7 separate regions of the Homo sapiens genome follow, and regions 2, 3, 4, 5, 6 and 7 are each linked to region 1. Evidence: promoter capture Hi-C in 16 types of primary human blood cells and fetal thymus (Javierre and others, 2016). All regions are on one chromosome and are shown on one strand. Each heading gives the region's core, a stretch centred on a gene start or on the middle of the fragment in contact. The rest is flanking DNA. Distances are from core to core; before and after follow the strand shown. Region 1 holds the start of SLIT1 (slit guidance ligand 1). Region 2 overlaps TLL2 (tolloid like 2). Region 3 overlaps TLL2 (tolloid like 2). Region 4 overlaps TLL2 (tolloid like 2). Region 5 overlaps TLL2 (tolloid like 2). Region 6 overlaps TLL2 (tolloid like 2). Region 7 overlaps TLL2 (tolloid like 2).

Region 1 (3,456 bases), core at 692-3,191:
AGGTCCTGGGACCAGGGAGCTACTGCTGGAGCAGAAGGCTGGAGACATCTTCAACAGCCTGAGTGCTGTCTGTGACAGGCCTACTAAGTGCCAGGTGCTGGGGTGTGTGTCTGGGTGAGCGAGTGAGGATGCCAGGGGGTGGGCAGGGGTGTGGAGAAGCAGCTGCAGGTACTAAGAGGGGATAAACAAAGCAGCGGGCATGGAGGAATGTCACTCTGAGGCTGCGGGGAGAGCATGGATAGAGGGGCTGGGGCCCCATGGAGCAGGAGCTGGTGAGCTGCAGGGCAGGGGCAGCCCTCTCAGACTCCGGCCTGGTTTGTGGGAAGCTTCCCTAATATCCCACCACACAGGCACCCCTGAGAAAGCCCTGCCCCCTGAGAAACTGAACTTATGCTCAAGAACCCACTTACCGGATGGAGGTCATGGACAGGGATGTGTGAAAACTTTAAAAGAACTGTCAAAAGCCCATAAAATCAGCCACCTAAATTGTAACATACTGTGCTATGACAGTAGAGAGACTGCAAAATTCTCATCAACATGGAAAAGAAAAGCAAAGAAAACGCCTGAGCCTTGGGTACCTGGTGGGTGATAAGGCTTCAACCTTGTGGAGTCTATCAACCTCCCCTATCCCCACCCTGCCCGACACTCTCCCCACCAAATGCGTCCATGCTGTGTCTGGACCCAGGCCGCTCCTGAGACGGGAGGTGCTTCTCGGGCTACCCAGCTGTGTCCTCTTGCCAAGCAGCCTCACGTCAAGGCCCCGACTGCTGGACACTGCCCCAGCGAGCCACAGCTGTCCTTGGCGTTGAGGAGATCTTTCGTCTTTTCTGGGGTTGAGGAGAATTCTCTCCCCACCTGGATGTCCCGTTCACACCCACGTCCACACATGCCTTACGGTGACGAAGGTCCCTACCCAGCCGGGTGTGAGGCCTGGGTCTGACGGGGCTGGCCTGTGGGGTTCTCTCCCAAGCAGGCCGCCCAGCGCTATGCCAGCCCTCTCTGTCTCCTTTGATGTCAAGATGGAATATTCATTTTCATCTGTTTCCACCTGTCAGAAATGGAGGAACGCTGGTGTGAGTGGAGGAAGACGTTTGCCAGATTTCCAAGTCCCCTTAATGTCTGTCCCTCTCTTCTACAACGGGGGAAGAAGCCCGTGTAACTGTATGGTACAAATACGCCCTGCTGAGCAAGTGTTCCAATCAGAGCCATTCTCATCCTGGGCATGCGGCTAGCTTGTTCCCCTCTGAGAAGTGGGTGCATTGAGGTAGGAAGGAGACTGTACTCCGCCTAGCGCTTTCGTGGACCCTCCCCCCCGACAAAGCTCCATCCTCAAAGTCCAGGCTAAGTAAGGTTGGTGGCTTGAGGATGCTACCTGGGGCACAGGCACAGGGTTTCCCTTAACCAAGAATTGACACAGCGAGTCGGGTGGGGCCGAGAGGCCGCTGCTGCCGTCGGGGGATGGGGGGAAACGGGTCTGACTCCCCGGGAAGGCGTCCAAGCGGCAAAATAAGATCTCCCTCCCACCCTGGACTAGCAGCTGGGGCCGCGGGTGCCGGGGTGCGTGCGTCTAAATGTGCGCATCCTCGCCGTGTGTGTGTGTGTGTGTGTGTGTGTGTGTGTGTGTGTGTGTGTACAGCCAGGACTTGGCGGGTCGAGTCACACCCCCTTCCCTCTTCTCCCATCCCCCGCAGCCCCGTGCCCGCTGACGGCGCCTCGGAGGTTCCACCTTTGAAACTGTAGGCGGCTTGCAGCCGCTGAGTGGTCGTCGGGAGAGGGGGGCTGCGGCGGGGGAGGGCGGGGAGGAGCCTGGCCCTGGATGTGTGCTTTTCGATTGATGGATGACTGCCGGGTGGGAGCGAGCGCGCGGGTGTGTGTGTGATCGTGTGTGTGTGTGTGGTGTGTGCGCAGGGTGCGTGCGCGCGCGGGGCCTGCCCATTTTCCTCCTCGCAGCAGTCAGTTGGGAGCTGGAGGGAGGGAGAGGGAGACGCAGGCGGCGAAACGGCAGAGGAGCCGAGCCCCCTCCGCCCAAGGCGCCCTCCCTCCGTCCGCGCACAGGCGCCGTCGCTTGGAGGAGCAAGGTGCCTCCCAGCCCGCAGGGGCGCCGCGCGCAAGCCCGCGGGCTCTTCGGTGGCTCTGCCCCGGGACTGCACCTGGAGGCGGCCCCGGACGGGGATGGTCAGCGGCTGCTGCCGTCTGGCTCGCGAGCGGGACGCTGTGAGGGCACCATGGCGCTGACTCCCGGGTGGGGGTCCTCGGCGGGGCCGGTCCGGCCGGAGCTCTGGCTGCTGCTGTGGGCAGCCGCGTGGCGCCTGGGTGCCTCGGCGTGCCCCGCCCTCTGCACCTGCACCGGAACCACGGTGGACTGCCACGGCACGGGGCTGCAGGCCATTCCCAAGAATATACCTCGGAACACCGAGCGCCTGTGAGTATGGTCCCCGCCCCTGGCTCCCTGGCTCCGAGGTTGCCCTCCCACCCAGACGCAATTCCGGACTTGGGGGTGGGGGCAGGACCATTGGGGCCCGTCCGGGCTCCGCAGCCCACAGACGGGTCAGTGCCTGCCGGGGTCTTTCCCGAGCCAGGAGCCAGGAGCGCCGTGGTTTCCCCATCCCTGGGATTCAAAGGGCCCTCGGCGGGGTTGTCAGCTTCCGTCCTCACACCTGCACCCTGCACCCTGCACTCCGCACCCTCAGGCCCTCCTCACTGCGCCAGCGCTTTATTCCTCCAGGGTGCCTGCGAACTGGTGTCAGAAAGCCTTCCTTGCACCCAGGAGGGACACTTCCCACACTCGCCAAGCACAATGTCTCCTTTTGGGCACATGGGGCTACGGCCGCGTTCTGAGCCAGCTGCGCAGATTCCCGCTCCCAGAGCTTGCTCCTGACGAAGGGCAGCAGGGTGGGATGGAGGCGAAGTTTCTGGTCTGCCCCTTCTTCTCCATTGTTTGCCCCAGAGCCTTGAGAATTCTTCCCCTGCAGGTGCCACGCGTTGGTCCCCTACTCACCCGCCTCCCTCCACACCCAGCCATCCCCAACACAGGCAGACAATGGGACCTGAGGGCTTTGGGTATGGGGCTTGGGGTATGTAACATTCAGCACCCGAAAAGGGGCAGGTGTGTCTTGGATGGAGAACCCGGTGGATAATGCCAAGAAGTCAGGAGCTTGGAGAGGGGGGCCCAAGGTTAAAGATATTGACCATGACAAGTAATAAAAAAATAGCATTTCTCTTCCCCTGTTCTGTCTCACTTGTGAATTCTTGAGGAAACTTGATCCTTTTCTTTTCTAGACCCAGTAAGCTAGTAGAATGTGTGTGTGTGTGTTTGGGTGTGTTTGAGTGTGTGTATTTACAGACCTTTATACTTTGTTTTCTGTGACTCTCCTGCAGAATGTGTTTCTGTGTGAATTCCTAGTATTAAGGGGCCACCTTAATAGCGTGAGGCCATGAGAGTCCCCGTAATGGGCT
Region 2 (3,456 bases), core at 407-2,906, 820 kb after region 1:
CACTATTAGGTCCTTTGGTGGGAAATGTACGTGCTTATAACTTATATTATCTACTTCGTTAAGTAGAAGAATGTCAGGAAGAAATTTGGCTCTGCTCTTTAGCCATTAAAATGTTGCCACCTGGGACTAGTGCCCACAGAAGCAAATCTGACCCTTTGATCCTGATGTACAATTGTGTCCTTTGTCAGAGCTGGTGACCACCCAAAGCCCACTCTGCTTCTGTAATGCTGAGTCTGAGCTCACGATCATGGGACCCTGTGATCCTTTTAACAGCCTCTACCTCCAGTTTTTTTTCAGTACCGGAAAATATAAATTAGGTCAAACAAAATGGCGACCAGCATCCTGAGGCAGTTCAGCCTCCTCTTGCACAGCAGAAAACGCTGCATGGTTTGTGGAACCCTGTCAAACTCCCTGAGGAGTTCTAGCTCCCTACAGGGAAGTTTAAAAGCCCTCTTGTCCCTGCAGATAGAGACCAGCAGGAACACAGGTGCTTCAGGGTCCCGGCAGGAAGTGGGGGCACATTCAGAGTCATTATTTGAGAGAAGTTAATAAAGGGACAAGTTACAAAGGGGTGGGAGAGTATGGGACACTGTAGGACAATGAAGCCACCAGAGCTAGGAACTGCAACTCCAGGCCCAGAGGATGAGAGGAGGGAGCAGTTCCTGGAAGCTGGAGACAGAGAGGACTGCATGCAGAGACCCTCTGGCTGCAGCTGTGACCTAAGTGGAAGAAAAGCTGTGGCAATCAGGGGACTAAATACCCTGGCTTCTCTCGCCTCCCTCCCTCTGATCTGCTGGTGCTCCCCATGGCTGAACCTGCAGCAGAAGGCACGGGGTCATCGATGTAGGCCAGGGGTCTGTCTCACGGGGCCCAGGCAGGTGGGGAGGGTGGGGGCGTCCGGCCGGATGGAGGGGAGGCGTCCCACCCTGCTCTGTGCTCATTTCATGACCACCCAGCTCTCAGGAATTTGAAATTTCCCAAAGACAGGTTAGACCTGTAAGACATTCTAAGCCAGAGCCAACACAGGACTCAGAATGGTCAGTCAGACAGGACCGGGGCCAGGCAGGGCGTGGAGCTCCAGCGGGGCCTAGGAGTGTTAGGAGCCAGGTGGCCCAGAATCTACAACAGCGTTTGCCTGGGCCCCTCGGGGGGCATGGAGCACACTGGGGAGGGGCTGTGCAAGAATTTGCTTCCAGAATTTCTGGTGCTTGCTAATCTAGACCAGTCTTATCTATCTATTTTATTTATTTATTTACTTTTTTTTTTTTTTTGATACGGAGTTTTGCTCTGTGGCCCAGGCTGGAGTGCCGTGGCACAATCTCAGTTCACTGCAACCTCCGCCTCCCAGGTTCAAGAGATGCTCCTGCCTCAGCCTCCCGAGTAGCTAGGATTACAGGCGCCCACCACCACACCTAGCTAATTTTGTATTTTCAGTAGAGACAGGGTTTCACCATGTTGGCCAGGCTGGTCGCAAACTCCTGACCTCAAGTGATCCACCCGTCTCGGCCTCCCAAAATGTTGGGATTACAGGCATGAGCCACTGCGCCCGGCCAATATCCATTTTATTTTATGTGGGCTTAAGTGTCCAAGACACAAGGTACTATATATGGGACCAGGGCCAACCAGAGTTACTGTCCTTGTATAATGAAAAAACCCAGAAACAAAGGCTACAGAATACCAGCCCAGAGCCTGAGGTGCAGCTCACCTGTGACACCCACAGGGACCTCAAAGTTGGCCTATAGTCAATGCCCTCAAATGCAAAAACCAGTCATTTAGGGTCTGAGGTTTCCAGGGTTGAGAGCTTACCCGCGATTCCGATGTGCTTTTATCGCCCTCTGTCGGCAGAAATGACAAATTGCAGTCAGTCGGTGGGGCGAGTGGGAGCCCTTCTCAGATGCATCCAACACTTCCAGGGAATAAAGTGGCAAATAGATCCACCCATATCCCAGCGACCAGTGAGGCGAACCGTCCATTGGCTCCATGTCTCCATAACCGGAAAAAACAAAAAGCAGCCAACTCTTTTCAATGGCATGCTCACGTATTCTCAAGCTGGGAACAGGGGACCTTGGCTTGTGAGGGCCACTTTGCACCCCCGAGGGAGCCCTGACCTGGGAGCCAGGGGCCTCTGTGTACTCCTCCATCAAATGGGGTGACGAGACTACCTGGCCTCTCCTGCCAGGCACGCACCAGGCTCTGTAGAGAAAGCCGAGCAGACGCAGGCGGGAGGCACGAGGGTGTCTTGTGCTGAGGGGACATCTCACTTCTCTCTGCTCCAGAGTGCGGGGGCAGGCTGAAGGCTGAAGTGCAGACCAAAGAGCTCTATTCCCACGCCCAGTTTGGGGACAACAACTACCCGAGCGAGGCCCGCTGTGACTGGGTGATCGTGGCAGAGGACGGCTACGGCGTGGAGCTGACATTCCGGACCTTTGAGGTTGAGGAGGAGGCCGACTGCGGCTACGACTACATGGAAGCCTACGACGGCTACGACAGCTCAGCGCCCAGGCTCGGCCGCTTCTGTGGCTCTGGGGTAAGTCCCGGAGACGCTGGGGCCGGGGCAGAGTGTGATGATTCACAGCAGGAGTTGTGGAGTCAGACACGCCCGGCTTTCAGTCCCGGCCACCTACTCCACTTAGGAGCAACGGCGAGGAGGCACGTTCTGCAGAAGCGGAGTGGGAAGCAGGAGAACCGTCAGGAGAGGAGGTTGGGAGGCAGCCAGGGACCAGTCCTTGAAGGCCCCTTACTGAGGCCAGCCATGGAAGAGCACTTTTCCTTTTGGGACTTTCACCTATTTTTGCAAAGGCTTTCCCTCTCCCCTCCTTTTTTTTTTTTTTCTTTTTTTTCCCCCGAGACGGAGTCTTGCTCTGTCGCCCAGGCTGGATCTCGGCTCACTGCAACCTCTGCCTCCTGAGTTCATGCGATTCTCCTGCCTCAGCCTCCCAAGTAGCTGGGATTACAGACATGCGCCACCACACCCACCTAATTTTTGTATTTTCAGTAGAGACGGGGTTTCACCATGTTGGTCAGGCTGGTCTTGAACTCCTGACCTCAAGTGATCCACCTGCCTCGTCCTTCCAAAGTGCTGGGACTACAGGCGTGAGCCACCATGCGCAGCCACTCTCCTCCATTTTTATTTGGCCTTCAGGCTTTAAAAATATTTAATTATGCTTTTATATATTTCTTATATTCACATTTCTCTCCTCAAGCAAAACCAAATGCTCTGAAAATTACAAGTCACTTACTATACACACAATAGTTGTGCTCAAGGTCATTATCAATGTTCTCATTATTGATTTCTTTAGTGGGCCTATTGTGTTTGCTGTTTCTCCAGCACCTGACACTGGGCTTGGCATATAGTTGGTGCTTGGTGGGAGTTTGCGCATTGGCCAGTACAGTGTCCCAGTCACTCCCCTGGCTGCACCGCACTGGACACTGCCCATACTGGGCACCAGCCCCCTC
Region 3 (3,456 bases), core at 700-3,199, 800 kb after region 1:
CCTGCTCAAGTAACCATGATAGCTGGCTCCATTTGCTGGTTAGAAGACGCCACCTTCTCCCTCCTCCCCATCTAGCGTGCATTCAACATTCATCAGTCTATGTGTTGGTGCTGGGGCTGGAGACGCCGAGGAAAGCACACAATGATTGTCCTCAAGTGCTCATGGTGGTGAAGGAGATTAGCAGCAAATGCGCGATGACATTGCTGTGTGGGTGTGGACCTTGGTGGAGGCTGTGAGACTCAGTCTGCGACGGGGCCCAGGTTACCCAGTGTCCTACTTGGAGGGCATTTCAATTTGCAAACATCTTTTCAGATGCCTGTCAAAGTGTGGACTAAGGCCCACCCAAAGTAACTTAGTGCACAGACCCAGCTTGACTTTTTTATGGTTAAAACAACTGCAGAGAACAACATTTAGAAAAGAAGAAATATACAACATTGACCTTGACCATGAATCTTAAAGTAGGAATCAGGATTAACAGAAACCTCATCTAGACCTATTAAATCAGGGAAAGGACATCTACTGAATGCTGGCCACGTGCCAGGATCTAGGTTATCTCACTTTTCTTCATTACAATCCCCTGGTAGGAATTATTATTGCCCCCGTTTTCCAGTTGAGGAAGCTGAATTCCTAACATGGCTGGGCTGGAACTAGAACCTGGATCTGTAGGATTCCACAATCCGCTCTGTTTCCACTAAGGAGACCTGAAAGCCACAGGGAAGGAACGTGAAGGGGGTGGAATTTTTCCTTAGTGTTTGTGATTTGATTCTGACACTGGTCACCTTTCTACCTTCCCGATACCACAGAGGTATAGGCAAAAGGGCTCTGGACGTGGCAAGTGGAGTTTGAGGTGCTGGTCCCATGTTCCCTACTAGCTATTCGCTCTCTTGCAGATCAGCTTTCCTTCCTACGACCGGCCCATACCTGCTTTGCTCCTCACTGTGGTCCCAGTGCTTGGCACACAGTAGGCTCAGTAAATACCTAGTGAGCAATGAAAGAATGGATAGATCAATGAATGAATGGGGCTCAGTTTCCCTGCTGGTGGAGTGGGCATCCTGCTGCCTGCTCTGCCTCCCTTGCAAGACTCTCTGGAAGAAGAGTGGGTGAGCGACCACAGCCTCGTGCAACACTGTCCAACAGAAATGGGATGTGAGGCACAACCAGAAGCCACATAGGTGACCTTGAATTTGCTGGCAGCTGCCTTACAAAAAAGGAGAAACCAGTGACATTGATTTCAATGATATTTTTATTTATTGTACAAAATAATATCATTTTAATATGTAATCAATATACACAATATTAGTGAGAGATCTTATGTTTTTCACACTAAGTCTTGGAAATCCAGCATGTGTTTTATACTCATGGCACATCGCCACTTGGACCAACTGCGTTTCAGGTGCTCAGTAGCCACATGTGGCTGGGGGCTGCCGTATCAGACAGCGCAGGTCAGGAGACTGTACCCAGCCAGCTTCCCCAGCCCAGCCTTTTCCCAACAAGGCCATCATTCAGATGCTCTGTGAACACAACGTACCTAGCACGTGTGTCAGAACTTCTCCAGTGAAAGAAGCTGGAAGAGGAGCTCAAAGGCCCAGCAGAAGAGCTGGAGCAAGCCAAAGAAGCTCTTGCCTTGGTGCCAATTGGCAGGTGCTCTGCCCAGGGCCCAGCTGGCGCCTGATCCTGGCCAGGGTGCCAGTTGGCCTCTGTACCTGATTCTGGTGCCAGATGGCAGCCTTCTCAGAGCATACTGGCTGGCAGCAAGCAGAGAACCTTAACAATTCTGGTTACTTTGGGAGAAGGCAGCAGCACTCAAGGGCTGGCAGGGCCATTTTGGTCCTATGCCCCCCACATAAAGAATTAAAGATTTCCCACCTTGATCCCTCCATCCCCCTATCCCAGTGCTGATAGGTCACCATGAAGGGCTTGGTAGGGGGACTGGCTTCCCTCAAGGGATTTCTTCAAAAGCCTAAGAATATGCCCTGCCTTCCCTTTCCTTAACTTTCTCTGAACAATTTTTGGGATCCTGCCTGAGCCGTCTCATCATCTAACTACTTCCTTCTTTCGCTAATTCCACCTGGACCATGAGAAGACTCCAGAGCTCCTGCTATGCTAAGCTGAATGCTGCTTCCAGTCTCTTCTACTGCCACGCTCTCCCAGATTTTTCTGGGAGGCTTGGCCTTGGCCTTGGCCTCTGCAGCCCAGAGCAAGCACGAGCCAGTGGGCTTGGAGCAGGTGCTGCTTTACCACAGTGGGAGGCCCCATGCACCTCTGTGCCATCTAGCCAAGCTGAAGCAGGGCTGTAACTGGCCAAACATCTCACGGCTCTTGCTAGAGAGAGCTCAGGTGTAAAAGCATGCCTTTCATCTACCTCCCAAGGCCGAGCACCTTACCTTCTAGTCTCTGGAGGAATTATATTTTCTTTGCTTTTGCCCTAGGTCCATCCACCGGGCTCTCTCCCTTCACCTGGCTAAGATGGTGCCAAGAGACTTGCTCCTCTGTGCACCTCTTTCTTGCCTGTGTGTCCTGCCTACAGCCACAGCATCTTCTGGTATCAGAGTCTCCTGCAGACCCCAGCCTTGGTCCTTTGTCTATCTGTCTCTCCCAATGGGCTCTTTCCTTGGTTTCCTTCTGCCTCTTCCCTAGGTCCCCCAGCCAGTGTCTTGAGTTCTTCTGCTGTGCTGCCCTCCTGCCCGTCCATCTTCCTCCACTGGCCCATCCTTGAAGCATTTTCCTTCTTTCTGTTCTTGCCTTGTCTCCCTTCCCTCCTCAGGCCTGCACTGCTCCACTCCCACCTGGTCCAGGTATGCCCAGGGAACCTTATCTTTTCACTGCCCCATCATTGTGCCTCTCTACTCACTGGAAATTTGAAAGCAACTCTGCTGCTGTCTATCATGATGGCTTCTGTGTGCCGATGGTCTGTATGCCGGGTACTTCACATGCATCGTTTTCAGTCGTCACAACCCTAAAAGTAAATATTATCATTCTCACTTTAAAGCAGGAGGGAGGCTCAGTGAGGCTAAATCACAAGCAGTCACCCAATTTATTGGAGGAAGATCGGCTGGAGGATCCACCCCAGGTCTGACTCACTTTAAAGCCTGGACTCTTTCCGCTACTTTTTATCAACTATTTTCTTCTTTCTATGCTTTTTAGCAAATGTCTAAGAAAATACTTTCAATTTGGTAAGGTGATAAAAAAAGTAACTGCACACTTGTTACTATTTTAGCATACTTATTACTTACATTTATTTGAGGCGATGGGCAACTTCAGCTCCCTGCCTGGATTGTCTCTCTAAACGCAATCTCCCCTAATAAGCAATTAATTTATATAAGTTTTTATTGAGCCCAAGAGTACATCACCATTAGAGTTACCCAAGTTCACTGTCCCCTATGTGAAATGATGGGATATTTACAAACCCTCCTTTACCGAGTGAAATGCAACCAGGTTGATGAGGAGTCTGTGCAT
Region 4 (3,456 bases), core at 621-3,120, 780 kb after region 1:
GAGATCATTCAGCCCCAGGGCCCCAGCACTCCACACAGTCTGTGGCACAGAATGGTCACCTGACAAGTATTTGTTGAATGGATATGTGGATGGATGAGGGGCTGAGTGAAAAACCTGCAGCTAGGGGTGGCAGTGGGGTGTGATGGAATTTTTCAGGCACCTGTAGCCAACCTTCAGGTATTTCTAATTTATAACTTTTTAAAATGTCCATCTAAATGTCAAGTTAAGCATAGTGTGCTAACTAGAGACAAATGACTAGGAACCATTGTGAGCATTTTCTGTAGACTGGATACTATCCTTAGCATATCATGTGGATCATCTAATTTAGTCCTCTCATCAACTTTGTGAAATAGGTGCTGTTGCCATACTTATTTACAGGTAAGGAATTGGACTTGCCCAAGGCTTCTAAGTTTGTTGCAGAGTTGGGATTTGAACCCAGGCAATTGGACTCTGACAGCCTGAATGCTTGACTGTCATCTTATATTATTACACAAAGGGGCCAGGCTAGTAGATAGACATTTTAACGTGCATTTATATACATACATGAATGCACATGTGTGGGCACACATGTATACATCCTTCCTTTGGCTCTAAGCATTTAAGACATTAAGTATGGCTGTCATCTTGTATCTGAGATCCCAGACCTGTCTGCCTTGGGTAGATGTGAAATCCATGTGCCTGCTGGAGGCTAACAGGAGGGAGGCAGAAAGGGGGAAGAGGAAGAGGTCTGGTAATTTCTAAATTATTGAATTGCTCTGCACAGCAGAGGGTGTGTGATATGTTTGAACTGTGTAAACTTCATCAAGCCTTAATTATTAGTGCTAACTGGGGACAGAGAGAATATACATCATTGAAATTTCTGCACCAATTATTTCCATTTCTGCTTCACCCAGCTTTCCCCAGAGCTGCAAGTAATTAGCAAACTTGATTGATTCGAGTATCACCTCTTGTTCACCACCTCTTTCCCCTATGGTCTTTATGGTTCACTAATGTACTTAAAATAATTAGCCTGAATAATTATCCCATTCATTCAGATCATGAATGTGTTACCAAGGAAGTTGTACTAACATTTCCTTTCTGTAATTTTAAAAAAGCAAAGGCTAAAGAATTATTGTGCAACCAGCTTACAGGTGTTACTAAGCTCTACCACCTGAATATGAGCACGGTGTGGGATAGGACAGAAATCTAAGGCACACCCCTGTCTTAAGACTGTTTATTTTGGGTCCCCCTCCCCCCACTCCCAGGGAATCTGATTTAATGGAAGGAAGGGTGTTTGCTTGGTATGAGCTTTTTCAAAGCTTCAAAGTTGATTTTAATGTGCAAGTAGGGTCGAAAAACACAGTCTAGTTTGAAAGAGGAGTGACAGCGTGCGCACACACATGCACACACACGCACACACGTGTGCGCACACACATGCATGCACATGCTCACACATGCATGCACCCACGCGTGCGCGCACACACACTCAATGACAGAAGGTGAGCTGACCTGTTTTTTCCTGGCACTGACTTCGTTTCCTAGGAGATCGCAGGGCTTTGTGGAAGATGTGATTTGTCCTGAGACGAAACATTGGGTGGGATGGGCCCAAGGGAAGGGATGGGCACTCAACACTAATCAAGATGGGCAGCTTGCGAGGTGTGGTTAGTGTTAGTTGTGGTATGCTAAGTGTACACTCAATGTGGACTACCTGGTATTTTAAGTTGCTATTTATCGAGTGCCTATGGTGTGCCAGGCATAGCAATATACACTCTATATATGGTTTCTCGCACAGTCCCCTCAATAGCACAGTGATGTGTGTATTGTGTTACAGATGAGGAAACTAGAGGGCAAGTATTTCCCCAAGACTCCAGAGCTAGTAGATGGAGCTGAGAAGCAAATCCAGATCTAGGTAGATCTAAAGACACCGGCTCTAGAATCATTATAAGACAGAGGGTGGGGCGTTCCAAAGAGGCAAAGATCAATCGTGTTCATCAGGGCAATCAGACACAGGCTCGAGGAGGGGGACACTTGAGCAGGCCTGGGAAGGGTTTCTCTGACATGGGACTGTCAGGGAACACTGGGAAACAGGTTGCACAGGACAGGCTCTGGGGGTGTGGAAAGTAAGCAGAATTTAATTCATGAGATGGGGGCACAGAGAGCCACTGAGGTTTCCTGAGGGGTTTGGTCAACATGATATATGGGTGGAAGATTGGGAGGGGTCTGGTAAACATGAGATATGAGTGGAATATTGATCTAGAAGCCCCAGTGTGTAGAAAAAATGGGGCCACAGCAGGGAGGAGTCCAGGAATCGTGTGGGAGCAATCCAGGAGGGGGTGAGGCAGGAGGAGCGAGATGGGGTTAGAGGGGAGGGATGCGGATATCTTAAAAAGAGCTGCAGCATGGATGCTGAACAGATATGGGGGATCAACAGTAAGGATGAAGGAAAGATAATACCAAAGCTTGGCTCCTTGACCATCGGGGCAATGGCATCTCCTACAGTGGAGGAGGCTGGAAAGGAAATGCTTTGTTTGGAGGTGCTCTCACCTAGTAGGGAGCGGGAAGGGCAGAGGAGCAAGAGCAGTGGGGAGAAGATAGGCCAGTGTGGTGAAAACCAGAAAGGATAAGCTCTGGGCAGAGGGGTCATGGGGCACAAGGCCAAATAACAGTCCTTTAGATTTGGTGGGGAGGGAATGGGAACCTTTGAGGAAGCCTTCCAGCCTAAGGGTTTACTTAGAGCTAGAGGGCCCCTGGGGCTGTTTGAATATAAAGAAGTGGCTAGTGGAGGGGCAGTGAGTGGAGATGCTGGAGAGAGAGGAACTGCTGAGAGCAAAGTCCTCCGGGGTTGGAAAACGAATAGAGTCAGGGGTGCAGGGGCTGGGTCAGGGCTGGAGATGAGGAAGAGTGGAGACGTGATGGAGCAGGTGTGTGGGGCATGAGGAAAGGTGAGCCTGGGCCAGACAAGCCACTGCACCTCAGGACAGTGGGAGGAGCCACAGGCACCTGGTTTAGTGGAACTTGCGTGGGGGTGAAAGGCCAGGGGAAATCTGAACTCTGCTCTGGGCCATCTGCCAGGGGAGCCCCGAGCTGGTGGGCTGCAGGGGGACCAGAGCCAGTTCACAGGTACAGCACCTGTGTGCTGAGGCCCAGCCCCTGGGACCACCCAGCCCTCCCCTTCCCCCTACTAAGTAGTCACCTATTTGGCCATGGGAGCATCCACTACCTGACCTCAGGGATGTCCAGACAGGGCTGCCAAGATGCTCCTCATGACAATCCCTCTCTTTTCAGTGTTTATACCATAGTGTTCTCATTGGCTTGGCCCATCTGCCTTTCCCCCCTTCTCTGGGCTCCCCAAGGGCAAAGGACCCTGTCTTACTGATCTTTCTATCTCAATTGGCCAGCACAGGCTGACACTCAGAAGGTGGTCAACAAACAATGGTGGAGTGAATGAAAGAATGGACTAACTGTAGGAAGGTCATT
Region 5 (3,456 bases), core at 382-2,881, 760 kb after region 1:
CTTCCCCTCCCTGTGGCTCTGTGACCTCTACTCTGAGAGGTGGCTGATGAAGGCAGATTCCCTGAGGATTTGCCAAAGCCACTGAGAATCGCTGATGAGTAAGTTAGGGAACGGTGAAGACCTCAGCAGCAGGGCAGCGGAATTCCTGCAGTTCCCTTTCGCTCCCGCAGCATTAACCCACGGCTTCCTAGTGCCAGGTGCTTAATTAGGGATTGGTGGTAAAAAAGATGACTAAGATTTCATCCTGCCTTCAAGGAGGTCTGTTCTCACAGCAGAGAAAGGTGAGTGCCTAAAGAAAAAAAATAGAAATTATAAACCACTACAGACTTTTGTTCCTTGGTATCCTAACTGTGTTCTTTCAGATCTGGTGTGCTTTTCTGACCAAAGATTTATATTACTTTCATCAAAGTTAACTAATTTTATATATAGGAATTTTGTTGACACAAGTATTTCATGTTATTAGATAATTAGTAGGGTTGCTATTTTTGGTGAGCGATTGAGCTATAAACAATTTGAACAAAAAATGTCAAGATGTCAGAAAAAAAATGGACAGTTAAGTTATTCTATTTTTTGTTGTTGTTGTTTGTTTCTTCTTTCTTTCTTTTATTTTTTTGAGACAGGGTCTTACTCTGTTGCCCAGGCTGCAGTGCAGTGGCATGATCACGTCTCACTGCAGCCTCAACCTTCCAGGCTCAAGCGATCCTCCCACTTCAGCCTCCTGAGTAGCTGAGACTACAGGCGTGTGCCACCAAGCCCAGCTAATTTTTTCTTCTTAAGTGTTTGTAGAGACAGGGTTTCACCATGTTGCCCAGGCTGGTCTCAAACTCCTGAGCTTAAGGGATCCACCTGCCTTGGCCTTCCAAAGTGCTGGGATTACAGACATGAATCACCATGCCCAGCTGTTATTCTTTATTCTATATGAATGTTTTTGGGGACAACAATATGATACCATCCCCACATCCTGCAGACAATGATGGGAGCCTCCCCCAGTGCTGTTGTGCTAGTCCATTTGTGTTGCTCTAAAGGAATACCTGAGGCTGGGTAGTTTCTAAGGAAAAGAAGTTTGTTTTGGCTCACGGCTCTGTAGGCTGTCTGAGAAGCATGGTGGCAGCATATCTGCTCCTGGTGAGGCCTCAGGAAGCTTGCAATCATGGCGGAAGGCAACAGGAAGCCAGAACATCACATGGTGGGAGGGAGCAAGAGAGAGGTGGGGTAGGTACCACACACTTTTAAACAACCAAATCTCTCATGAACTCAGAGCGAGAGCTCATTCACCAAGGGGATGGCACTAAGCCCTTCTTGAGGGACCCATCCCCATGACCCAAACACCTCCCACCAGGCCCACCTCCAACACTGGGATTATGTTTCAAAACGAGATCTGAAGGGGACAAACATCCAAGTGATGTCAGCTGTTTTGTTTTGCTTGTAATTTTTGTTTTTGTTTTGCAATGAGGGCCCTGTAGAACTCAGACCTCCAACTCCCACCATCCTTCATACTTCCCAGACAACTATTTTTTCCTAGATCCTTCTCATTGCTTCTAGGAAAATTTAAACAGTCTTCCTTCTAGATTTTGAAAAGAACTGACTGACTATACGTAACTGTCAGCCTGGAGTTTTATTATTCAGCAAATTTCCACTCAAGGAAATACCAAGACAGGTTCAGAGAAAGTATGAAGTTCACCTATTTTCAAAGGCCTGGAAGAAAAATTAGGCTCAAGGATTCCCCACAAGACACTGAAACCCCGTGCAAAAGTACACAGATGTACATGCAAATAGAAATTTTAAAGTGCATGGGAGCACCCCCCTACAGGTCTAAAAGAAAATGAGGGGGCGAAGTGCAGTGCTGGTGAGCTGGAGTTGACTCCCCCCTACTTCAAAAGCCTGCAGTTTCCAAATCGAAAAACCTGGATAAGGTTTTGTAAAAGTTTGGAAAATACTTTCAATACAAAGGAAAATTTGGGAAGCCCAGGATATTTTGAAAATCTATTTTTACCCTCCCTTCCAATCCACAAACTCCTACTCTCTAGGTTTTGGCAGCTCAGAAAAGTTACGTTGTGTTTTTAGCAAGGGAAATCCTGATTCCTGAAAATTCCTGGAGTATTTCTATTCTGAACAAGCTTTTTTTTTTTTTGAAAATATTTAATTGACAAATAAAAATTGTATATATTCAAGGTATACAACATGAAGATTTGATATATTATGTCTCGATCACCATAATCAAATTAATTAGCACATCCATCACCACCCATGCTTACATTGGGGGCTGGTGAGGACACAAAATCTGTTCTTTTATCAAATTTCAAGTAAACAATACAGTATTATTAACAATCTTTTTTTTTAATTGTTGGAACATCCTTTGTCTTAACTCAGCATGCTTTAAAGCATCTAAGGAGGCTGGGTGCCGTGGCTCATGCATGTAATCCCAGCACTTTGGGAGGCTGAGGCTGGCGGATCACCTGAGGTCAGGAGTCAAGACTAGCCTGACCAACATGGAGAAACCCCATCTCTACTAAAAATACAAAATTAGCCGGGCGTGGTGGCACATGCCTATAATTTCAGCTACTGGGGAGGCTGAGGCAGGAGAATCGCTTGAACCCAGGAGGCAGAAGTTGCAGTGAGCCGAGATCGCACTATTGCACTCCAGCCTGGGCAACAAAGGCAAAACTCCGTCTTGAAAGAAAAAAAAAAGCATCTAAAGAAAATATGGACCCATCATTGAAGTCGAGTGCTTGCCCTGTTGTTTCAGGGAGCCAGAGGGCCATTTTTAAGCAGGCCATGAGACACTGGGAGAAGCACACCTGTGTGACCTTCATAGAAAGGACGGATGAGGAAAGCTTTATTGTATTCAGTTACAGAACCTGTGGGTAAGTAAACGAAAGCGAGGCCACCTCTGCAGAATCAGTCGGATGGCTCATGAGTGTTGAATTTTCTCTGTAAACCTAAGTATTTCCAATGAGCTGTTATTTAGAGGAGTCCAGGGTTTGCTAGAAACTTTCTGCCCTTGGTGAAATTACAATCCAGTGGCAAAGCTGATGGGCCAAGAGGAAGATTCCAGGAGACTCCATGAAGACCAGGGGTACTGGCACTAGAAGAGCAACAGAAGGAACTGGTGGTGTGTCATGTGAAGACTTAAGGCAGTGGTTCTTAACCTCTTGGGGTTTGTGTCCCCATTTAGAATCTGATGAAGCGGTGGGCTTTCCTTCTTCAAGAATAGATGAATATGTATGTAAAATTTTGCATTTAATTTGAGGGATTCTACAGGTTTACAAACTTCCTTCAGAAAACATAATATGTAATAAAATGACTGGCTTATGACTAAAGTTATCTGTTATGTCAATAAATATGTATGATATACTTTCCTACTGAAAAGCTTCTCATGTTGGATCAAAAACCCAAACCCGGCCAGGAGCGGTGAGTCACGCCTGTAATCCCAGCAGTTTGGGAGGCTGAGGTGGG
Region 6 (3,456 bases), core at 718-3,217, 730 kb after region 1:
AACATGGCCCCCAAGTATAGTGCTGAAGTGCTGACTAGCGGTGTTCCTAATTGCAAGACGGCTGTGATGTGCCTTATGGAGAAAGTCCCTCTGTTAGATAAATTTCATTCAGGCATGAGTTATAAATATAGTGCTGTTGGCTGGGAATCCAATGTTAATGACCTAATGATAGATATTAAATTAGGTGTCTTTAAACAGAAACACACATAAAACAAGGTTATGTATCTATCGGTTGATGAAAATGTTGTGACCAGTATAGTATAGAGCACTACATGTTGTGCAGTATATAGTAGACAGTACTGTACTTTATACTAGAGTGTATATTGATCTCCTGGGAGCAATGGTTAGGTGTTCACTAGTTTAGTGAACTTGGACTTCCCAGCCTCCAGAACTATAAGAAATCAATTTCTGTCATTTATCAGCCACTGATATTTACTCACAACAACTTTAGAGAACATAACTACTTCAAGTAATGAGAATTGACAGTGTCTTATTTCTGCAGGACAAAAGTACCTCACTGAATATTCTGCACTGTCTGGAGGTTTTCATCCTCCATCTCTGCTCCTGTTAGAACACTAGGGGAAGGAACAATGAGGCAAAGGGCTGGGCAGGGAGGCAGACCCTCTCAGCTGTGCTAAACACCACAGTGACCACAGGCCAAGGACTTTACCTCATTGAGCCTCAGTCTCCTCATCTGTAAAATGGGGATAACAATAATAATAACTTACAGATAATAATACCTCACAATAATAATGGCCCACACAGATGCAGTGAGAATTAACTGAGATAATATATGCAAGTACTGGCCAATCCAATTCAGTCCACTTCACCTGGACATATTTTGTAAGCGTCTGCTGTGAACACCGTGTGGGTGGAGATGCAGAGGATGTTGCTCCAGTTCTTAAGGAGTAGAGCGTCTTATAGGGGTGATAGATGGGGTCACACAGAATTATACTATGGGACTGATATGGTGAGTGTCAGGAGCTCCTTGGGGGTGGTGACTGTATCTGATTCGCTTTTGTCTCTCTGGCACCTGGGATGGTGCCTGGCACAGAGAGGTGCCCTATGGAAGCTTGTCAAATGAGGGAATTAATGCATGAGCACAAGGCCTTGGAAGAGATGTAAAAGAAGCACAGAGGACAGAGATGGCTTCATGGAAGAGATTGAGGTGGGCCTTGAAGGATTTTCATCAGGGTTGCAGTGCAGGGGAGTCATTGCAGGTGGAAGGCAGAGGCTAAACAAAGGCATGGAGGTGAGAATTTGGCAGTGAGAACTGAGCAGCACAGGAAGTGTAGAGTCCAGGGTGGTTGGCAGGAGGGTGAGTCCTGGGAGTTGGGGAGAGAAGTTGGAAAGGCGTGCTGGGATCAGATTCAGGCAGAGCTTGGGCTGAGGCCTTGTGCCTCCCCTCTGTAGGCTGCCCTCATCCGCACCTCCATGTGTGGAAGATCTTTGCCACTCCCCTCCTGCCTTTCCATCCAGATCAGTCAACCCTTCTCTGGGCAGCCTCCGGATGCCCACATTGCTTCCTCTTTCTCCCACACTGGACCATGGACTCTGCCTGAGGTATGTGAATTCTTATGTATTGGTGCATTCCCAGTGCCTAGTCCTGTGATGGGCACATTTTAGATGCATAATAAACTTGCTGAATAAACTGCTCACACAATGAAAAGTCCACTTCCACCAGACTCTTCATGATTGAGCCATACCATTAAATTTTTTATTTTGCTAATTTAATAGCTGGAAAGTGGTATCTTGTTTTTGCTTTTATCTTCATTTCTCAAGGCTAAACGTCTTCTATATGATTATCTACTCTCTTAGTTGGTTTGGGCTGCGGTAACAGAATGTCATAGACTAGGTGGCTGATAAATGACAGAAATTGATTTCTCACAGTTCTGGAGGCTGGGAAGTCCAAGATCAAGGTGCTGGCAGGTTCAGTTTCTGGGTAGCGCCTGCTTCCTGGTTCATAGATGGTATCTTCTTGTGGTGTTTTCACATGGCAGAAGGGATGAGAGAGTTCTCTGGGGTCTCTTTTATAAGGGCATTGTATTAGTCTGTTCTCACATTGCTATAAGGAACTACCTGAGACTGGGCGATTTATGAAGAAAAGAGGTTTAATTGACTCATAGTTCCACAGGCTGTACAGGAAGTGTGGCTGGGGAGTCCTCAGGAAACTTACAAGGAAGGCGAAGAGAAAACAGGCACATCTTCACATGGTGGCAGGAGAGAGCGAAAGAAGGGGGAAATGCTACACACTTTTAAACAATCAGATCTTGTGAGAACTCACTCACTATCATGAGAACAGCAAGGGGGAAGTCTGCCCCCATGATCCAATCACACCCCACCAGGCCCCTCCTCCAACACCGGACATTACAATTTGACATGAGATTTGGGAAGGGACACAAAGCCAAACCATATCAGGCATGAGCCCATTCATGAGGACTGATCCCTCATGACCTCTCAAAGGTCCCACCTCCAGATACCATCACATTGGAGGGTTACAATTTCAACATATGAATTTTGAGGGGGCACAAAAACATTCAGTCTATATATAGCATCTACTAAATTAGAATTTCTTCTGTGAAGTGTTTGCCAATTTCCCCTCTCCATACGTCTATTGGATACAAAGTTTTTCTCATTGATTTGCATGGGCAAATTATATAATATGGATAGTAATCATTTATTATCTTCAATGCAGGTATTTTCCCTTATATGAGTGGTTTGTTTTCATTTTGGGGAATTACTCAACACATACAAAGGTTTTGAAATTTTATACAAACTTTTAAGGCTTTTGAAGTTAAATATGTCAAACCAAATTTTCTTAAACTTCTAAACTTAAAAAAAATTATTCTTACTGAAGCTTTGGGAAATAATTTATTTTTTGGTAGAGTTTTTCCATATGGTTTATTTGTACTTGAAATTTCTTTCTTATACTTTCTTTCAATCCATTTGGGTTTTATTTTGGGGTAGGACTGATACCCCCCAGTTCTAAATAATAATCTCAGTACCATCTATTTCATATTTTCCCTGTGTCTGTGATGTCTCCTCTATCAGAGAGTGTGTTTTTATATATAGAGTTAGCATTTATATCCAGCAATCCATGTGTCTTTTCATTTTAGCTGCTATATATATATATATATATATATATATTTTTTTTTTTTTTTTTTTTTTTTTTTTTTTTTTTTTGAAACAGGATCTTGCTCTGTCACTCAGGCTGGAGTGCAGTGGCACAATTTTGGTTGACTGCAACCTCCGCCTCACAGATTCACGTGATTCTTCTTTGCCTCAGCCTCCCGAGTAGCTGGGATTACAGGGGTGCCGGCTGATTTTTGTATTTTCAGTGGAGACGGGGTTTCACCATGTTGGCCAGACTGGTCTCAAACTCCTGATCTCAAGTGATCTGCCTGCCTCAACCTCCCAAAGTTCTGGGATTACAGGTGTGAGCGTGATCTGCCTGCC
Region 7 (3,456 bases), core at 291-2,790, 700 kb after region 1:
TCTTGTGCCAAATCTTCAGGGAAGTGGGAAACCGAAGGGCTCAGCGCAGGCAGCCGGAAACCATCTTTGACCAAACCAACCTTGTCACACATTTCAAGGGAGTTCTAGATGACAGTCAGATTTCAAGGAATTGTCAGATAGACTTCCTTGTACAAAGTTTGGGTCCCCAAGAAAAGCTTTAAATTGAGAGACAGTTATTGTATTCAGTCAACACTTTTTATTTTCTAATTTTTTATTCTAGCCATCCAAATGGCTGTGAAGTGGTACTTCATTGTGGTTTTGATTTGCATTTCCCTAATGACTGATGCTTTTGAGCATCTTTTCATGTGTTGGCCATTTATATCTTTTCCTTACAGATGTGTTTTTTCAAATCCTTTGCTTAGTTTTAATTGGGTTGCCTTTTTGTTGTTGAATTGTAAGAGTTCATTTTATATTCTGGATTCTAGGCTCTTATAAGATATATGACTTGCACAAATTTTCTCCCATTCTGTAATTTGTCTTTTCACTTTCTTGATAATGTCCTCCTTTTCTGATAATGTCACAATGCACAAAAATTTATAAATTTGATTAAATCTAATTTATTTATTTTTTCTTTTGTTGCTCATGCTTTTGATGTTATATCTACGCCATTGCCAAATCAAGATAATGAAGATTTATGCTGATGTTTCCTCCTAATAGTTTTTTGGTTTTAGCTCCTACATTTAGGTCATTGATTCACTTGGAGTTAAATTTTGTATATGGCTTGAAGTAGGAATTCAACTTTATTCTTTTGCACATTTGTTTCTTTTAAAAGCCTCTGGTGGCTTGTGGCTAAATAAAAAAGGGAGATGGAGATCTGGGAAACTCCGACCTAGAAATATAAAAATGAATGCTGTGAGGAGCATGAGTCTCAATTCATAGATTTCACAATATGGACAGCGTGGATGGATGACATGGGTTTCAAAGTTTCGAAAGCTATATTTGACCTCTGTGGGGAAATCGCCTACTATGTGCCAAGAACAGGGAGAAGCATGAGGCAGTTTATAGATTTTGTAATATGGACAGCTTGGATGGATTACTTGGGTTTCAAATTTCAAATTATATTTGATCTCTGCAGGGAAAGCATCTATGTGTCGAGTACAGGGCTTGGTTCTTCATTGCTCCATAAATTTTATTTTTCTTCCTTCAATAGATTGCATCTACTGAAGAAAGATTATATCTATTGAAGAAAAAAAAGAAAGCCATGGTGTGTGTGTGTGTGTGTGTGTGTGTGTGTGTGTGTGTGTACTTATGTGTACATGATCTCATTTAATTTTCTCAACAGGTTTCCAGAATAGGCAATATTATCTCTATAGATGAATCATTTGTGGCTCAGTGAGGTTGAGTAATATGTGCGAGGTTGCCAAAGCCAGAATATGAATACAGATCATTTTGCAAAGGCTGTATGTGTCAATCATTATAATCTAGATTATGATACAGGAATAAATAATCCTTAAGTATCCATGCTTTATAACCACAGAAGTTTTTGTCTCATGTTACATGTTCAGCCTGGATCATATCATCTTCACTCTATGTCTCAGCCTGATAGAGCGGGCTGTTTCCGGAATATCCTTTGTCTTATGGCTTTGGGAAAAGAGAACATGGCAAACCATGTGCTGGGTCTTACAGGTTCTGCTTGGAAGTGACACATGTCACTTCCCCTCACTTTCATTAGCCAGAAAAAAATCATGGTGGGCCAGGCGAAGTGGCTCATGCCTATAATCCCAGCACTTTGGGAGGCCGAGGCAGGAGGATGACTTGAGGTCAGGAGTTACAGACCAGCCTGGCCAACATGGTGAAACCCCATCTCTACTAAAAATACAAAAATATTAGCCAGCATGGTGGCGCATGCCTGTAATCCCAGCTACATGGGAGGTAGAGGAACGAGAATCGCTTGAATCTGGGAGGCAGAGATTACAGTGAGCTGAGATCGTGCCACTGCACTCCAGCCTGGGCAACAGAGAGAGACTCCATCTCAAAGAATAAATAAATAAAATAAATCACATGGTGAAGCCTGACATCTGAGAGAGGGGGAAGTATAATTTGTACCCAGGAGAAGCAGCAAAAATGATGAACAATAATAGACTCTGTCACAGGCCTCCTCCCCTCTTGTAACAAATACTTGCTTTCCTTCTCCTCCCGTATATACAACATACTTACCTTTCCCCAAAGTCCTGTCCAGTCATGGTACCAGGCTCCAAGTCCAAGATCTTGTGATCATCTCTATACTAAGTCAGGATGTGACTCCTCTTCATCCAAAGACTAGTGAACTTTAAAACAATCATATACTTCCCCACCCCACCACCAAAATACATACTCAATATACCATGATAGATAAGGGACAGGATAACCATAACAAACACTTCCATTTGGAAAGAGGAAGACTGGGAGGCACAACAGTCACTGATCCATAACAGTTCTGAAATCAGGCTGGACACATGTTGCAAGAGGCGCCTAGGATGGGGAACGTTCCTTCATGAGGCCCTGATGCCACCTCCTGCCAGTAGCTCTCCATTCATTTTCCCTGTGTGGCTTTGAGCTCCACACTCTGGGAGGTCCTGCCCTTCCTTTTCCCTTATTCTTAGCCACATCTGGAGAGGGCATCAGAGAATATGCCCTTCATGGGGGCAGCTTTTTCAGCCTGTTTCTTTCCCATACAAGGATGGAGGCCCAAGGGTCATTTTGTGTCATTTTAAGTGTCAAACATTAGCAGCCTCTTATAGGCCATGCTAATGACTTTTTTTGGTCCTACGCTTTTCTACAACATTAATCATCTTCTTATCTGTTTGGTTCAGCTGTGTGTGCCATAGCCACATACAGTTATTTTCTAAACATGTCTATCTCTCTCCAGACTTAATTATTGCTACCTTGCACTTATGAAGCTTCTGCGAGAGAAACACATTCTTAGTTTTCTTTATCTGAACAATTCTTTCTCAACTGAAAGGATTTACCAGGTACCATCTTGGTTGGTTCTTGCTACAAGGTTGAATTTTTTTTCTTTAACAGACATCTTGAGTATAATTTACATGCTGTGTAATTCACTTATTGTAAGTGTACATGCGATTTTAGTAAATTTATAATTGTGTAACCATAACTACAATCCAGTTCTAGAGCATTTCCAGCAACCCCCAAATTTCTGCATGTTCATTTACAGTCGATCCTTGTTTCTGCCCCCAGTCCTAAACAATTACAAATATTTCTACTTCTATAAATTAGCCTTTTGTAGACATTTCATATCAATTGAATCATATAATATGTAGTGTTTGGCAACAGTTATTTCATTTCGTATGATGTTTTTGAGATTCATACACGTTGGAGCCTGTGTCTATAGTTTGTTCCTTTTAATTGCTACATAGTTCTGTTGTATAGATATGCCACGTTGTGTTCATCCATTCAACAGCTGATGGACATGTAAGTTGTTTCAAGATTAGGGCTATT

What was found. Contacts are between HindIII fragments. The CHiCAGO score rates a contact against its expected background, and 5 or more counts as called.
Region 2: a contact is called between a fragment that was not itself captured here and the fragment with the promoter of SLIT1 in region 1, in 1 of 17 cell types (total B cells). The highest score is 7.0, in total B cells.
Region 3: a fragment that was not itself captured here is called in contact with the fragment with the promoter of SLIT1 in region 1 in 2 of 17 cell types (naive B cells and total B cells); the score reaches 11.0 in naive B cells.
Region 4: a contact is called between a fragment that was not itself captured here and the fragment with the promoter of SLIT1 in region 1, in 1 of 17 cell types (erythroblasts). The highest score is 5.0, in erythroblasts.
Region 5: a contact is called between a fragment that was not itself captured here and the fragment with the promoter of SLIT1 in region 1, in 2 of 17 cell types (naive B cells and total B cells). The highest score is 7.0, in naive B cells.
Region 6: a fragment that was not itself captured here is called in contact with the fragment with the promoter of SLIT1 in region 1 in 2 of 17 cell types (naive B cells and total B cells); the score reaches 6.1 in naive B cells.
Region 7: a contact is called between a fragment that was not itself captured here and the fragment with the promoter of SLIT1 in region 1, in 2 of 17 cell types (naive B cells and total B cells). The highest score is 6.3, in naive B cells.

Annotation. Positions count from the first base shown.
Region 1 is chr10:97,184,444-97,187,899 of GRCh38, reverse strand. It overlaps SLIT1 (slit guidance ligand 1), which reads left to right and starts at 1,941. Exons shown (of 37, transcript NM_003061.3): 1 at 1,941-2,422. The coding sequence starts at 2,226. All of the region lies in intron 11 of ARHGAP19-SLIT1 (ARHGAP19-SLIT1 readthrough (NMD candidate)), which reads left to right. RefSeq lists enhancers at 1,096-1,596, 1,597-2,097. The HindIII fragment of the contact is 4,998 bases long and covers 329-3,456 here.
Region 2 is chr10:96,369,136-96,372,591 of GRCh38, reverse strand. It overlaps TLL2 (tolloid like 2), which reads left to right. Exons shown (of 21, transcript NM_012465.4): 20 at 2,277-2,527. Among named protein-coding and RNA genes, the nearest start is that of OPALIN, 12 kb to the right of the region's middle. The HindIII fragment of the contact is 3,669 bases long and covers 1-3,456 here.
Region 3 is chr10:96,388,763-96,392,218 of GRCh38, reverse strand. The region is part of intron 13 of TLL2 (tolloid like 2); the gene reads left to right. Among named protein-coding and RNA genes, the nearest start is that of OPALIN, 31 kb to the right of the region's middle. The HindIII fragment of the contact is 7,459 bases long and covers 1-3,456 here.
Region 4 is chr10:96,405,818-96,409,273 of GRCh38, reverse strand. The region is part of intron 9 of TLL2 (tolloid like 2); the gene reads left to right. Among named protein-coding and RNA genes, the nearest start is that of OPALIN, 49 kb to the right of the region's middle. The HindIII fragment of the contact is 1,140 bases long and covers 1,301-2,440 here.
Region 5 is chr10:96,428,039-96,431,494 of GRCh38, reverse strand. TLL2 (tolloid like 2) reads left to right here. Exons shown (of 21, transcript NM_012465.4): 5 at 2,747-2,864. Among named protein-coding and RNA genes, the nearest start is that of OPALIN, 71 kb to the right of the region's middle. The HindIII fragment of the contact is 976 bases long and covers 1,144-2,119 here.
Region 6 is chr10:96,459,397-96,462,852 of GRCh38, reverse strand. The region is part of intron 2 of TLL2 (tolloid like 2); the gene reads left to right. Among named protein-coding and RNA genes, the nearest start is that of TLL2, 53 kb to the left of the region's middle. The HindIII fragment of the contact is 1,785 bases long and covers 1,075-2,859 here.
Region 7 is chr10:96,482,400-96,485,855 of GRCh38, reverse strand. All of the region lies in intron 1 of TLL2 (tolloid like 2), which reads left to right. Among named protein-coding and RNA genes, the nearest start is that of TLL2, 30 kb to the left of the region's middle. The HindIII fragment of the contact is 2,724 bases long and covers 179-2,902 here.